Regions from separate parts of the Homo sapiens genome. Here regions 1, 3, 4 and 5 are each linked to region 2. Evidence: promoter capture Hi-C in 16 types of primary human blood cells and fetal thymus (Javierre and others, 2016). All regions are on one chromosome and are shown on one strand. Each heading gives the region's core, a stretch centred on a gene start or on the middle of the fragment in contact. The rest is flanking DNA. Distances are from core to core; before and after follow the strand shown. Region 1 holds the start of ATF7 (activating transcription factor 7). Region 2 holds the start of NFE2 (nuclear factor, erythroid 2). Region 3 holds the start of SP1 (Sp1 transcription factor). Region 4 has its middle 22 kb from the start of ATP5MC2. Region 5 holds the start of MAP3K12 (mitogen-activated protein kinase kinase kinase 12).

Region 1 (2,767 bases), core at 135-2,634, 670 kb after region 2:
AGGGTGCTGTGAGGATAGATGAGATGCTAGACAGAAAGTTCAGAAAGCTGAGTAACATAAAGCTGCAAAAGGAGAGAACAGAGATTCCATAGATAATATTTTAAGTCAACTACAATTCGTTAAATTTTAAGAAAATTATTTATTTTATTTATTTATCGAGACAGGGTTTCACTCTGTTGTCCAGGCTGGAGTGCAGTGGCCTGATGTGGGCTCACTGCCACCTCAACCTCCTGGGCTCAAGCGATCTTCCCACTTAGCCCCCCGAATAGCTACTACAGGTGCAGGCCACCATGCCCGGCTAATTTTATATTTTTTCGTAGAGCTGAGTTTTCGCCATGTTGCCCAGGCTGGTCTCAAATTCCTGGGCTCAGGCGATCCTCTTGCCTCGGCCTAGCAGTGTTGGGATTACAGACGTGAGCCACTGCACCCAGCCTGTTTTTTGTTTTTCTTTTTTCTTTTCCTGGTTTGTCTTGAACAAGACATATAAATGTAAGACTATAGACTTTGCATTTGATATTTCCCCCGAAATCTTCCCAGGTCATAATTCAACTCCTGGTGTGTTACTTCCTCAAAGAGGTCTTCTCTCAAACACTAGGAGTAAAGCTTCTTCCCCACTCCTAGTCACCTTCTGTCTCACTATCCTGAAGCGCTTTTCACTATTTGAAATATTTGTGTTTATTGGCTTTTTAACTGTCTCCCCTTCCTCACTCAAATATAAATTCTACCTGGGTTGGTAACTCCTTAACCCCATGCTTAGAACAATGCTTTGCACGGGGGGTATAGCTCAGGGATAGAGCATTCGACTGCAGAACAATGCTTTGCATGTAGTATGCCCTACGTTTTGTGAAAATATTTGCTGAATAATATAGTGATTTTAAAAAATCCCCAAGCAGTTTCATGTATCTCATTTGATCATTACAACTATTTGAATAAAATGAGATTGTTAGTCCCATTGTACAGAGACTCAGAGAAGGTTTTCACCCAAGGCAATAGGGCTAGTAAAATGGTAGTGTTAGAATTGCTGTGCGGGTGGATTGCTTTGTCCGTACATGGACTTCATTTCTAGCGCTAAGGGTATTTTAAATTACTTTGCCGTTAAGGAAGCGATGACTCTGAAAGATAGTAGTAACCACCACTACAGGCACCTGTAAAGATCCTCTCTCCTTTTTCCTTTCTTTCTCCCGCTAGATTCTGCAGCCGAACACGTGTGACCTGTGTGGACAGTACTCGCTCAGTCTCCCTCCCCAGCCCTGCCCACAGTAAGCCCGGCCCCTTCTTTTCCCGGAGCCCCCGCCTCTCGGCCGCTTTCCAACTCAGCCCCCACGGATCTCGCCCTTCCCCCGCGGACCCATGACTTCTCGCGAGAGTTGAGCGCGCCTGGCCGGACGGGAGGAAAGTATCCGTTCCGCCAAGGGGGGAAAGGAGGAGCTGGAGACAGATTGTAGGACCGAGCGCGGGCAGGCGGGAGGCAACGGAGCTACCAGCCGGTAAGTCCTTTTAACATTAGCTAGTCCATGATCTGACGGGAGTCTCCCTTTCAACTCTGGCCAGTCCCAGCGTTCCAGGCTGGGGTCTCCCCTCCCAGTCTGTGTTGGACGGGGGCGCTGAGGCGGTGGCCGGGCCCTGTCTGAGGAAGAGGGTGGGGCATAGGCCAAAGCCGACCAATGGGAGAGAAGGAAGCCTCGATTGGCGGCGATGAGCGCTAATGGGAGATCGCTTTTACGTTGCCGAGCGCCGCCCTTCTCTCCCTACTCCCGCCTCCTTCCTTTGGGGGGAAGGCGGGGCCAGAGGCTTGAAGTGTGGGGAGAACTTGGTGTAAGTAGCCCCGGGGGGCACAGGGCGTGGCAAGGAGAGGGGAATTGAATCCTGAGGGAAGGGTAGTCTAGTGGAGCCTAATGGAAGGATCATGGGATGGGGTGGAATGGGAGAAAGAGGAGGGATACTAAACTAAGTTAGAAACCCAGGGCTTCCCAAAGAGTGGGATTAGGAGCTTGGAATTGGAAAAGGGTAATAGGAAGGAGGTAGGAATGAGTAGATGAGAACAAAGATCTTGATCTGGTGACACAACACCCCGTTGGGTTTGGCAGAAAAGATAGATGGGGTGGATTATTGGAAATGAGGGTCATGGCATTTTGATTGAATTAATTAAAAGAACATCAGGGACATGATATCAGAGAGAAAGTATGGATTTGGAGAAAATTAAGTGAATTAATTTAAGAGGACAGTATGGGTGAGCTGAGTCGCCATAAGGCATGGCTTCTGGAAGGATATGAGCCTTGAGAGCGATAAGAGGTGTTTGGGAAGGAGATGGCTGATATACACATGTCTTTAGCCTAGGTATCAGGTGGTTGGGATATTGATTTAGGGCTTCTGGTGGATATGGCACCCAGACTGGTGACCAGCCTCCAAGATGCTGGGATGGGGGTTGAGAAGGAGAAAAATAGAACGCTTTCATCGCTTCTCTGATTTTCCTTCTCCCTCTCTTCTATTACCCAAACTCTTCCCAGACACCAGGATGTGGTCTTGGGACTTAAGCAGTCCAAGTTGGAGCCCCATAGGGACTTAATATGTTGCTCTGAATTGCTTGTTATGTTCTCTGACTGGGGTGTTTACAACCCAGGGCACCTCCTACCCAGATTCCCGCGTTGCTACTTTCCTAACTTTAAAAGTTTGTTTTCTGCTTAACAGAGGGTGTTTTAGTATCTCTGAGGGTCATGTCATATTAAGTACAGGTGTGTAGGGGGTGTGCAGAGTTTTCTCAGCAAGC
Region 2 (2,700 bases), core at 39-2,538:
AGTGGCACCTATCTGCTTCCCCAGTCTTCAGATGTTTCTAATTTAACTTGAACATTGTAAGAAGAAAAAATGTAAGCTGCAGATGTCAGGATTGAAGCTAGACATATAGAGCTGAAAGCCATTACAAATTAGGAGGAAGAAAGGCTCTTTTCTCACAGTCTGTGGAGAAAGATGTTTGACCTGGGGCTTTGGTGGTGTAGCTTGCAGGCAAAAAGATGAATAAGTGGGCTGGGTGAGGTGGCTCATGCCTGTAATCCCAGCACTTTGGGAGGCCAAGAGGGGAGGATTGCTTGAGCCCAAGAATTCAATACCAGCCAAGGCAATATAGTGAGACACCACTTCTACCAAAAAAAAAAAAAAAAAAAAAAATTAGCTGGGCATGGTTGCACTGACCCATAGAACCAGCTACTTGGGAGGCTGAGGTGGGAGGATTGCTTAAGCCTGGGAGTTTGAGACTGTAGTGAAACATGTTCACACCACTGCACTCCAGCCTGGGAGACAGAGTGAGCCCCTCTCTGGAAAAAAAAAAAAAAAAAGATGAATAAGGGTACTTACTGGCCTAACAGAGTTGGGTGCCATGTGGCTGGGGTGCTTTGCCTGGGAGAAAGGAGGACAAAGGACACCTGGGGTCCCCTTTACGGGAGGTGAATAATCTCCCTGCTGGGTGGCCCCCCACCTAACTCCCTTCACACACTGACAAAAACCTGGCCAAGAAAGAATCCTTTGTCCTGGGACTTCTGAGGCTGAGGGGGGAGGGGAGAAGGCTACAGGTGAAAGGACACATCAAAGCAGTCAGTTGCCCCTCCTCCTCCAAATAGTTCCCCTGCCCTTGTTCCCAGAGCCCAGGTTTTCTGTAAATGAAGGCTATACCCTAAACGTCCAACTGCCTAGACAGCTGGGAAGCTAGACACCTGGTCCTTACCTTCAGCTGCCTTCCACCTTGATATGACTCAGTTTCCCTGTCCCTAGGAGAGCCGTGGGGACACAAGGCGACGACAACCTGTATAAAGTTTAAAGGTCACATTCGAGTGGACCATCAGGTTGGAATTCGTCAAATGCATGGGAGAAACGCAGACCTGGCTGGACTCCTGGGCTGAAAAGGAGGGCTGGGAGAGGCTTGGAGCCATGTGTGCCCCCGCTGGCCAGGAGCAAGGTGGGGGCGGGGTGTGGGCAGAAACCACATCGGGCTCAAGTTTCCTCTCTTGGCCGAAAGGGGCAGGAGGAGAGGAGAGCCACGGGGAAAGGGGAGGGTTGGAGGAAGGACTGAGAACTCAGGCCGAGGGCTTCAGACGCTGGTGCGCCTGCTTGGGGCTCCTGTGCTCAGCTCAGCCTGAGCTTCCACACTCAGCGCTCAGCAATGGCCCGGGGGCGGGGCGCGGTCCTCGCAGATTCTCAAAGGTAGCCGGGATCCTCGTCCAGCAGTGTCAGCTCAGGCTCAGCCTCCCCAGAGACAACACCGGGAGCCTCATCTCTCTCCTCACCCTGCTGTGACTCCACCACAGGTGCCTGAAAGGCAGGGTGTGTGTGGGGGGGGCGGATTCCAGTGAGATCCGAGGGGCAGGCTGGGGGGTGAAGGAGGTGAGGGGGGAAAATAACCAACTTTCGGTATCCTAGGAGACCTCAGACTTTCTAGATTGCCCCTGGTTTAGGAATCTGACATATTTGGGAACTCCTCTAGGAGAAGACCTAAGTGGTTTCTTGGGTGCTCTGGGATCCTTGGGGTGGAGGCTGTGAATGGGGATCAGAGAGGGGTCTCCAGAGGCAAGGCACCGCTGAGGGGCTGGGGAGTAGCCAGGAGGAATCCTTCAACTGGTGGGCTACCCTGAGGGAACCAATAGACTACCCTTTCCCCAACTCCATTCCATTACTCTGCCCTGTCTAGGCAGCTGAGAAGGTTTAGGGAAAGCTGAGGAATTGGAAACACTGGATATCTGAACCTCTGAGAAGTGTTGCAAGGTGCGGGGGTTGGATGGGAGATTGCCTCTGGGTTGTTGGCTCCTTTGCCCTTTCTCTTCTCTGTGCCCAGGGGCAGTAGAGATCAGCTGGACCTGGAGGGAGAAGGAAGACATCCCAACCCCAGCATAGTTGCTTCTAACTGGAACTCTTGGCTGCTTGGGAAATAGGGGCTTGGGAAGCAGTGGAAGAGAAGAGAGGAGGTATCAGAACTGCTGGGGCTGGGATCCCCTAGACATCGGTACCAAAGGACTGGAGTTTGGGGTCCAGGGATGAAGTGACACAATAGCAGAAACTCGTCCCCCTCTTCTTTGTTCTCACACATTTGTTTGAGTCATGCATGTCCCTAGGGCACTGAGCTCACTATGCTTAAATCTCTCTCCCTCCTTTTTTTCCCCTTCATTCTGTCTCATCTCTGTGTGTCTCTCTCTCTTCGGGAGTTCTCCCTAATCTTTCTAAATAGGTTGCTTACCGGTTAACCAATACCCCAAGTTTTACTAATCCCTCCTCATCCTTTCACTGCACCTATTGACACCTGGAGAGGTGAGGTGGTCAAATAAGCCTCAGAAAAGGGATCCTGAGGCAAGCCCCCTCTCATCGTTCCCCCTCGTTAAGGAAGTTAAGAGCCCTGGGGCAGCAGCTAAGGCCAAATGTATTCCTCTCTCCATCATCCCTCTCCGAATAGTCCTCACTCTGTATTCCTAATCATGAAGCTCCGTATCATTCTGTGAGTACTTAGGGATTATG
Region 3 (2,700 bases), core at 178-2,677, 920 kb after region 2:
GGAAGGATAAAAGGAGGCTATGATGAAATAGCAATGACTAACAGGAAGGCGAAAGCCACCAGTATAAAGAAAATGGATTGGAGGGCAGAGGGGAGCTGCAGGGCATGCAGGACATGAACTAGGTTCAATGTGCCAAAAGTGGGCCTTAATTCTCCCTTGTACAAAATTAAACTAAGAAAACATTCAAAAAGTGCTTTGGGGATAGGAAATGTGAAGGACGGTAGGCATGGTGAGAGTTTCTAAATAAGAAAAAGTATCCTAAGGGAAAAAAAGGAAAAGGACAGGTAAGGCATAAAACAACATGTGGGTGCATGGAAAGCTTGCTAAAATTAAGTTTAAAAGAGATGGAGAGGCCAGGCGCGGTGGTCACGCCTGTAATCCCATTACTTTGGGAGGCGGAGGCAGGCAGATCACCTGGGGTCGGGAGTTTTGAGACCAGCCTGACCAACATGGAGAAACCCTGTCTCTACTAAAAATACAAAATTAGCCGGGTGTGGTGGCGCATGCCTGTAATTCCAGCTACTCCCGGAGGCTGAGGCAGGAGAATCGCCTGAATCCGGGAGGCAGAGGTTGCAGTGAGCCGAGATCGCACCATTGCATTCCAGTCTGGGTAACAAGAGCGAAAACTCCGTCTCAAAAAAAAAAAAAAAAAAAAAGACAAACAAAAATCCAAGTGTGAAAAGTAACGAGAGGGGAAAAAGAAGTAAAAAGTGTGAGTAGAAAAACATTTGTGAATACTGCTAAGGAACTAAAGGGATCTACAGGTTAGTAGTCAGAAGGTTTCGGGGCGGAGGGCGGGCCCTGAGGGAAAGGGCGGTTTCGGGGTGAGGGGCGTGGAAAGGGCGGGACGGTGGGGGGCGGGGGGGAAGGGAAATCTACGGAAAGTGGGGGGAGGAGGGCCTTGGAGCAGGCGGCGACCAGAGGGCGGACCAGGCAGGCGGTTGGCCCGGGCGGGGCCTTCGCTGCTCGGGCCGCCCCCGCGGCTCCAGCCCCCGGCGGGAGGAGCCTCAGGCGGGCGGCCGAGTAGTGGGGGGTAAGGCCCGTCCCCCGTGGCCGGGGCGGGCAGGGGGCGGGCGAGGCCACGCTGCCCCCTCCCCCGGGGCGGGCGGCCCATCCCCCTCCTCCTCGGAGGCCCCGCCACTGCCCCGTCTCCCTCCCTTCCCTCCGCCCCGGGCGGGACCTAGGCCGCCGCCGCCGCCGCCTCCCGCCCGCCCCCGCTTCACGGCGGGGATCGCCCGGTCGGCCCTCGCGCGCGCCCCCTCACTCGCCTCCCACCCCTAAGCTTGGAGTGGACTCATCCTTACCGCTCATGGTGGCAGCTGAGGGACAAGCTCAAGGGGGTCCTGTCCGGGGGGGTTGGGGGGGGCCGGGAAAAACGCGGACGCTGACGAGGCAAGCGAACCCGGACCGGACAGGGAGGGGGGGGTAAGGAGGAGGGAGCAGCGCGCCACAAGCCCAACCTAGGCCCCGCCCCTTCTCTGCTGCCCCGCCCAATGAGGGAGGGGGAAAGGAGGGACTTGCAGAAGAAAGACGGTGGAATTATCCAATGGCAAGACTCGCTTGCTCTCCAAGGCGTGTGAGACTAAGTTGCGTGCCTGGTGTCCGCCTAAAAAGACCGCCCTCTCAGTGTTAAAAGCCAATGAAGGATGCAGGAAGTGAAGATGGGCGGGAGCTGGAGATGATTGGCTTGGAAGGAAACCAGTCAACCGGCAGGCGGGCTCCCTGAGACGTAGGGATAGGCAAAGCTTTGATAGGAATGACAGAACAACGGCCAACCAGAATCCGGGATATGCTTGGGCAAAATCCTAGTGGGCGGAGAGGTAAGAAGTAGGCAGGAATAGGAGAGGATGAAGCTGATTAAAACCAATCAGAAATCAGGCGGGCAGCCAGGAACGTTATGATTGGAGTTAGACTGAAAAGAGACAGGAAAGGACGCATATTGACGTGAACTAAAAGCCAATTAAACGCCGAATTAACTGAGGGCGGAAACTTGGAGTGGCAGAGGAGAATTGGCGGCTCCCTCAGTTATTCAATCCAATGAGGGGACGAAGTAGGCCTGGCACCGCCTCCTAGTTAGCCAATGGGCGTTACTGGAGCTGCCCATCATGAGGGAGGGAAGAGGGCTATGCCAAGAGGAGACCGTCGCCATATTGGCCCTCCTCAGGGGACGTTGTTACAGTCATTAGGTGGGACGCTTTAGCGGAGTCCTGCAGCTCAACAGGTGTCAGAGCCAAGGCATTCGGCGCGCAGTTCCGCATCAACACTAGGACTTGTTTGCGTCTTCATTTAACTGCCCCTATAAAGTACCTCTCAAATCTTACCCCCCTCCCGGGTGGTCGGACAGGCGGGCAGATGCCTCAATGTCGCTGCAAGCCCTGGGAATGCAGGCGGGACGAGATCTGGTGACAGCACTCACCGAATAAGTTAATACTGAGCTGACCAATATGCAGAGTCTCCGTGAGACTCCAGAAAACGCGATTTTATTAAGTTCCCCCAGACAAAGGCGCTAACCACTTAAACGACTGGTTAACTTTTCAAGCCTTGAGGCTAAAGTGCGGATAAGTCACTTCCATTTTTTCCCCCTTAATAGTAAATACCGCCTATGCATAAAGCAAGATAGCTGAGCTCCAGCTTTTTGCAATCACGAAGGTTAAGAAACTTTACTGCAGGCACCTGGATTTCTGGCCTCCTCTTTATCCG
Region 4 (2,700 bases), core at 105-2,604, 600 kb after region 2:
TGTCCAACCAGCCCCACGTGAAGCCATGTGTGTCCAGCAGTCCCTCCTCCCAAGGAGGACTCTGTGAAGAGTCCTTGGCACCCTCCCCTCCTGGCCACCCCCACTCCCCACTTTCCATGCCAGGAGAGATCTAATTACACAGAAATTAGTACAGAAAAGGATCGTTTCCTTTTATTGCATCAGTACCGGGGCAGCTATAAATCTGGAGCCACCGCTGCAGCCGCCTCTGGGCACTGTGCAGGCTATGGGGGGCTCTCACCTCCACACCTTCCTTTTCTCCTGGGCCTCTACCCCTGCCCAGGACCTGAGAACTCTATTAGGTACCCATCTCAGTAGGGGAAGTGGAGAAAGGGGAGGGTGGGGTCAATCAAAAGAAGACACATAGTAGATGCTTAATAAATGTTCACTAAATGATTAGGGAGAGGTAGATCCCAGCAATGATAGTAACTACCCGACTACCTAGACCCAATCACCACGAGATAAATATTTCTAGTAAAATTTCTCTCAAAATTCTTAAGCTCTTACCAGACAGACTTCCTCACTTTCTTATGAACCCAGATGAATTATATGGAGCTATTAGTCATCCTGGCTTCTACTTTAGAGACCCTGAACTCCTTCTCAGGCAGCTTCAGGTGATGAAGACAGTCCAGGTTCAGATCTTGATTCTTCTGTTTACCACCTAATTGTCCTTGGGTATCTCCCAACCTGAGCTTTGGTTTCTTCTTCTGTGAAATGGAGGACATGAAACCTACCTCTCAGGTTGTTGTGAGGCATCAATGGGAAAGCACAATTAGTCGGGTGTGGTGGCATGCACCTGTGGATGCAGCTGCTCCAGGGACTGAGGCAGGAGGATTGCTTAAGCCCAGGAGGTCAAGGCTGCAGTGAGCCCTGATCCAGCCTGGGCAACAGAGTGAGACTCTATCTCAAATAAAATAAAATAAAATAAAATAAAATAAAATAAAATAAAATAAAATAAAATAAAATAAAATAAAATAAAATGGGAAAGCAGTAGACCAACAGGAAGGGGGTCCACTAATTTTTATTATCACTCTTAATGTCTTCCTAGCTACCACTTCCACTTCACCACCTTTACTTCTGCCTCCTCTTCCCCATCACCCTTTAACCTAGCCTATATGCCAACCAACCCCCACTCAAATAGGGGGCAATAAGATATGCAGGCAGGCTGTGCCCAACCTGGAATGAATGTTTCTATATGTTAGTGTCTTATCAGAAGACAGAGATGAGGCCAGGTGCGGTGGCTCATGCCTGTAATCCCAGCACTGTGGGAGGTCAAGGTGGGTGGATCACTTGAGGTCGGGAGTTCCAGACCAGCCTGGTCAACATGGTGAAACTCCGTCTCTACTAAAAATACACACATGGTGAAACCCCATCTCTACTAAAAATACACACACACACACACACACACACACACACACACACACATTAGTCGGGCATGGCGGCATGCATCTGTAATCCCAGCTACTCCAGGGGCTGAGGCAGGAGAATCGCTTGAACCTGGGAGACGGAGGTTGCAGTGAGCCGAGATTGCGCCACTGCACTCCAGACTGGGCGACAGAGCGAGACTCCATCTCAAAAAAAAAGAAGGAGGAGGAGGAGAAGAGGAAGAAGAAGAAGGAGAAGAAGAAGAAGATGAGGAGGAGGAGGAGGAAGAAGAAGAAGGAGAAGAAGAAGAAGAAGAAGAAGAAGAAGAAGAAGAAGAAGAAGAAGAAGAAGAAGAAGAAGAAGAAGAAGGAAGAAGAACAAGAACAAGAACAAGAACAAGAAGAACAAGAAGAACAAGAAGAAGAACAAGAAGAAGACAACAGAGATGAGGACAGGGGACTCCAACCATCCTCGGGCATCTGGAGGCAGTGTTTTACACATAGCCAACTGTCTCTAAGCTCATTCCTTGGCAGTAACTATTTTGATCTCCATTATTTGCATGGAGGGTGTAAATTAGCTCCTTGGAGTACTGGAGGGTCTGGTTGTAAATGACTGTGTAGAAAGAGTCCAGGATTTAGGGAATTAGGAGGGAGCAGGAGCTGGGGAATCAGGGTGGAGACTGGAGGCTTGAACTTATCCCGGAGCAAGGTCAAAGGGCCCTTTAGGGGATCGCAGAGACAGAAACCAAATGTCCGGGCTCCCAACTTCCTGCCAACCCAGTTTTCCAAACCCAAGGATTTGGGGTCTCCTCCCTCTTGCCCTCTCCTACACTGATGTCTCCAGCCCAAGGCACTCAGCCAGGAATTCTTGAATTTACTCCTATGTGGATAACCCTGAAGAGCTCTCAGTGTAGGTCAGCAAGTGAAGAGCCAGAGAAAGGAAGGGGTGTAACCCCCCACCACCCCACTGTGCTCAGATCTCCAAGCACCATTTGGGCAGGACCCCCTGCTCCCACACTTCAAGGGCAGGAGGAGCCGCAGAAGGAAGCTGAGGCCCTACGTCTGTTTCCAGCCTCTCACCCCCGATCTGCGTCTCAGGGAGGGTGAGGATTTGGCGTGAAGGGCACAGCGGCGTGGGGGGCGCGGATCTCTGGCCCCCATCTCCCCCCATCCCCAGCCCCGACTCAGGCTGCAGTCTCTCCTCGTTGTAGCAGCGCGAGAGCAAAGGGACGGGCAGTAAAGATGAGTGATGGCGCGGAGACAAGCAGAAATACACCATCATGAAAATGCTAATGACTCCTTGCTCTCTTTCTTTATG
Region 5 (2,700 bases), core at 77-2,576, 800 kb after region 2:
TCCTTGATGAAGGAAGGTTGTGATTGGTCCGGAGAGGCTGCCGTCGGATCCTGGCTCTTTGCGGTCTGGGAGGGTGGGCCTTACCTAGACGCCGGAGGGGACCGATCTCTGTTTCCGCAGGGCTCTGGAGCTGGTGCAGGTTTAAGTCCGTCTCAGACAGTCCCCTCAACCCACAGCCTAAGCCCCTTGCCCTTGGGCCTCCGTGACACAGAACTTGCTTCCTTTTCCTAGGTCGTCCTTCACCTCCCTTCAGGTGTTGCTTCTTTTGTGAAACCTTTTTAGAACCGCTCTAGTGAACCTCTCTTTAACTGGCGAGGAAACCTCTGGGGCCTGATAATCAGGCTGTAATGTGGGACGACAGGATTAGAAGGACTAGGCACCTTGGTGGTCTTGTTCCCTCTTCCATGAGTCTTGGGTCTCTCAGCTGAAGAGAGCAAAAGTGAATTTTGGCCGCCTAAGATTAATCAACTGATCTGGGTGTTGAGCAGACGCGCATTGTTTAGTCCTAGAGCCCCATTGCCTCCTCCCCCAAAGTTGCACAACCACTGGGCTGAGGGAAATCTTGTGACCTTGGAGAGAGAAAGGGAGAGACCACATTAAAAAAAAAAAAGGTTCTAATGAGTGTTCTGAGAAGGGGTCAAGAAAGATGTCTTACTCTGAGCCGGGGTTGGAGGTCCAGAGGAATCTTGAAATGATAATGAGGGGTCATCCAGGAACACTGGAGGAGGATGGGGCCTAGAGCCGAGTGAATTCCAAGTGGGTGAAATTGGAGTGAGTGGTGACAATCAAGGGAAGGAGAGCTGGCAAGATCGGTATGATAGGGGGAGCAATGCCAGAGCGCTAGGGATCCCAACTGAGGGGCTGCTCTCTCCGATGTAGAAAGGAGTCTATAAGACGGGTCATAGGGGGTTCCTGTGGAATCAGCCTGAGGCCTGAGGTGGGACCTCCATAGGACACCGCCAGCAGGGAGGCGCGGGGCCCAGGCGGGCCAGGTACGAGCCTGGAGCGCGCCGGATGGCAGCAGCGGGCTCCTTTAAGAGGCCGGCGGCTCCATCGCAGCATCCCCCGCTCAGGGCGTGTCCGTCCCGGGGGGCCAGGGGCGGGGGCCCTGGAAGGAGCGGGAGTTCAAGCCGAGCAGGGACGGGGCTAGGGGTCGGGGGGTGGGGGCAGAAAGCTGAAGCTGACACCCGTGCATCCGGACACCGCACGAGCATCGCCTGTGACAGCGCCCCGGGTCCGGTGGAGGGCAGCGGGGGGAGGAGGGAAGGAGGAGGAGAAGGAGGAGGAGGCGGGAGCAGCATCCGGAGCGGAGCTGCAGCAGCGCCGCCTTTTGTGCTGCGGCCGCGGAGCCCCCGAGGTGAGAGCCTGGCCGAGTTGTGGGGGGGTGGGGGGCAGGGATGGGTCTGGGTCCTGGGATCCGGGCGTGGAGGGAGGGTCGGGATGCAGATGTGGCCTGGTGCGGGGTGATGGCGTGGGGATGCTGAGGCTGTGGGGATGGAGGAACTGGGGACCTGGACCCGACGCCTGTGGGGCTGGGAAGGAAGGGAATGGAGCGGAGGGATGCCGCGGCCCAGCTTGGAGACGAAGGGCCTCCAGAGCTGGAAAGGACCGTATTGGGGTGGGGTGGAGGATGATTGGGGGACAGACTTAAAGGACAGAGGGCAAGAGAACATCTCCTCCCACTCATCCTCAGGAAGAGAGAGAGGGAAGGAGGAGGGAGAGTTTTGGCCCCCTCTAGGGAAGGAAAGGAAGGGCAAGGACTGATATACCCACCATCTCCACACACACACACACACACACACACACACACACACACACACACACACACACACACACACACACACACACACACACACACACACACACACACACACAGCAGGCTGGACCTGAAGATTAGTCAGAGAGCACCTGTTCCTGCATGCCCAGGCGTTGGTCCCCCTCCCCTTCAAGCTGTGATCCTCCTAATCCCCTCCAGCTGTGGCATTCACCTCCAGCTGTGGCATTCACCTCCATCCAGCTGTTGCATCCTCCCCTCCCCCATTCACGTGTGGGTTTCTCCCTCCTCTTTCTCTCCATCTCCTCTGGCTCCCCTAACCCATCTCCCCCAGTCAGGCCCTCCAAAAACCTCCTCCCTTTCCCACAAACACTCCTCAAACTCATTGGCTTAAAAATAAACAAGAGTTGAGACTTGCTGGTAACCAAGGCCTTGACTGAGAGGAGGGAAGAGTCAAGGCTCTGTAGACAGTGGGAGGAAACAGTGAGGTGTCCCTTAGAATTAAGGGAGGAGTCCTACCTTGTAGATGCTCATCTGCTGCCTTTTTCAGAGGAGCGTAGGTGAGTGGCCTCCAATCAGAAGGGAGTGCACATGAGGTCTCCTCACCCCACCCAGAGTCGTCTCAAGCCACAGTCAGTGCATCCCTCTAAACACATTTCCCTTGCAGTTCTCAAGGTGGACTCCATTGCTCTAGGAGCTCTGAGTTTCAGCCAGAGGGTCCTACCAAGCTAAGGCTAACAGAAAGGATTTAGGAAGGATAGGACTCAAGTGCCCCCTGAGCCTTCCTGTCCAGACACTGAAGTTTCTCTGAGCTTTAGGGCCCCACTCCCTCCTATCTCACACTTACAGGTGAAAAAAAGTGTGTCCCCTCAAGCGTATCATTCATCCACTCACTCCCATTGTCAACTGGGGTAATGTTAGGAAAA

Evidence for each region. The method cuts DNA at HindIII sites, captures the fragments that hold promoters and counts their contacts. A CHiCAGO score of 5 or more calls a contact.
Region 1: a contact is called between the fragment with the promoter of ATF7 here and the fragment with the promoter of NFE2 in region 2, in 8 of 17 cell types (erythroblasts, neutrophils, naive CD8 T cells and 5 more). The highest score is 12.5, in erythroblasts.
Region 3: the fragment with the promoter of SP1 here is called in contact with the fragment with the promoter of NFE2 in region 2 in 2 of 17 cell types (erythroblasts and megakaryocytes); the score reaches 12.9 in erythroblasts.
Region 4: a contact is called between a fragment that was not itself captured here and the fragment with the promoter of NFE2 in region 2, in 3 of 17 cell types (naive B cells, non-activated CD4 T cells and M2 macrophages). The highest score is 10.7, in naive B cells.
Region 5: a contact is called between the fragment with the promoter of MAP3K12 here and the fragment with the promoter of NFE2 in region 2, in 3 of 17 cell types (erythroblasts, megakaryocytes and activated CD4 T cells). The highest score is 13.8, in erythroblasts.

What each region holds. Positions count from the first base shown.
Region 1 is chr12:53,624,999-53,627,765 of GRCh38, reverse strand. It overlaps ATF7 (activating transcription factor 7), which reads left to right and starts at 1,384. Exons shown (of 12, transcript NM_006856.3): 1 at 1,384-1,487. It overlaps ATF7-NPFF (ATF7-NPFF readthrough), which reads left to right and starts at 1,384. Exons shown (of 15, transcript NR_159377.1): 1 at 1,384-1,487. RefSeq lists an enhancer at 1,458-1,527. The HindIII fragment of the contact is 3,816 bases long and covers 606-2,767 here.
Region 2 is chr12:54,299,603-54,302,302 of GRCh38, reverse strand. NFE2 (nuclear factor, erythroid 2) reads left to right here and starts at 1,288. Exons shown (of 3, transcript NM_001136023.3): 1 at 1,288-1,502. RefSeq lists an enhancer at 401-1,141 and a cis regulatory region at 542-1,516. The HindIII fragment of the contact is 10,882 bases long and covers 1-2,700 here.
Region 3 is chr12:53,378,903-53,381,602 of GRCh38, reverse strand. SP1 (Sp1 transcription factor) reads right to left here and starts at 1,427. Exons shown (of 6, transcript NM_138473.3): 1 at 1,305-1,427. The coding sequence starts at 1,311. RefSeq lists enhancers at 1-653, 1,504-1,798, 1,631-1,930, 1,834-2,334 and a silencer at 761-1,390. The HindIII fragment of the contact is 463 bases long and covers 1,285-1,747 here.
Region 4 is chr12:53,697,204-53,699,903 of GRCh38, reverse strand. No RefSeq gene overlaps it. Among named protein-coding and RNA genes, the nearest start is that of ATP5MC2, 22 kb to the right of the region's middle. The HindIII fragment of the contact is 7,437 bases long and covers 1-2,700 here.
Region 5 is chr12:53,498,084-53,500,783 of GRCh38, reverse strand. MAP3K12 (mitogen-activated protein kinase kinase kinase 12) reads left to right here and starts at 1,326. Exons shown (of 14, transcript NM_001193511.2): 1 at 1,326-1,357. RefSeq lists a silencer at 960-1,209. The HindIII fragment of the contact is 6,087 bases long and covers 1-2,700 here.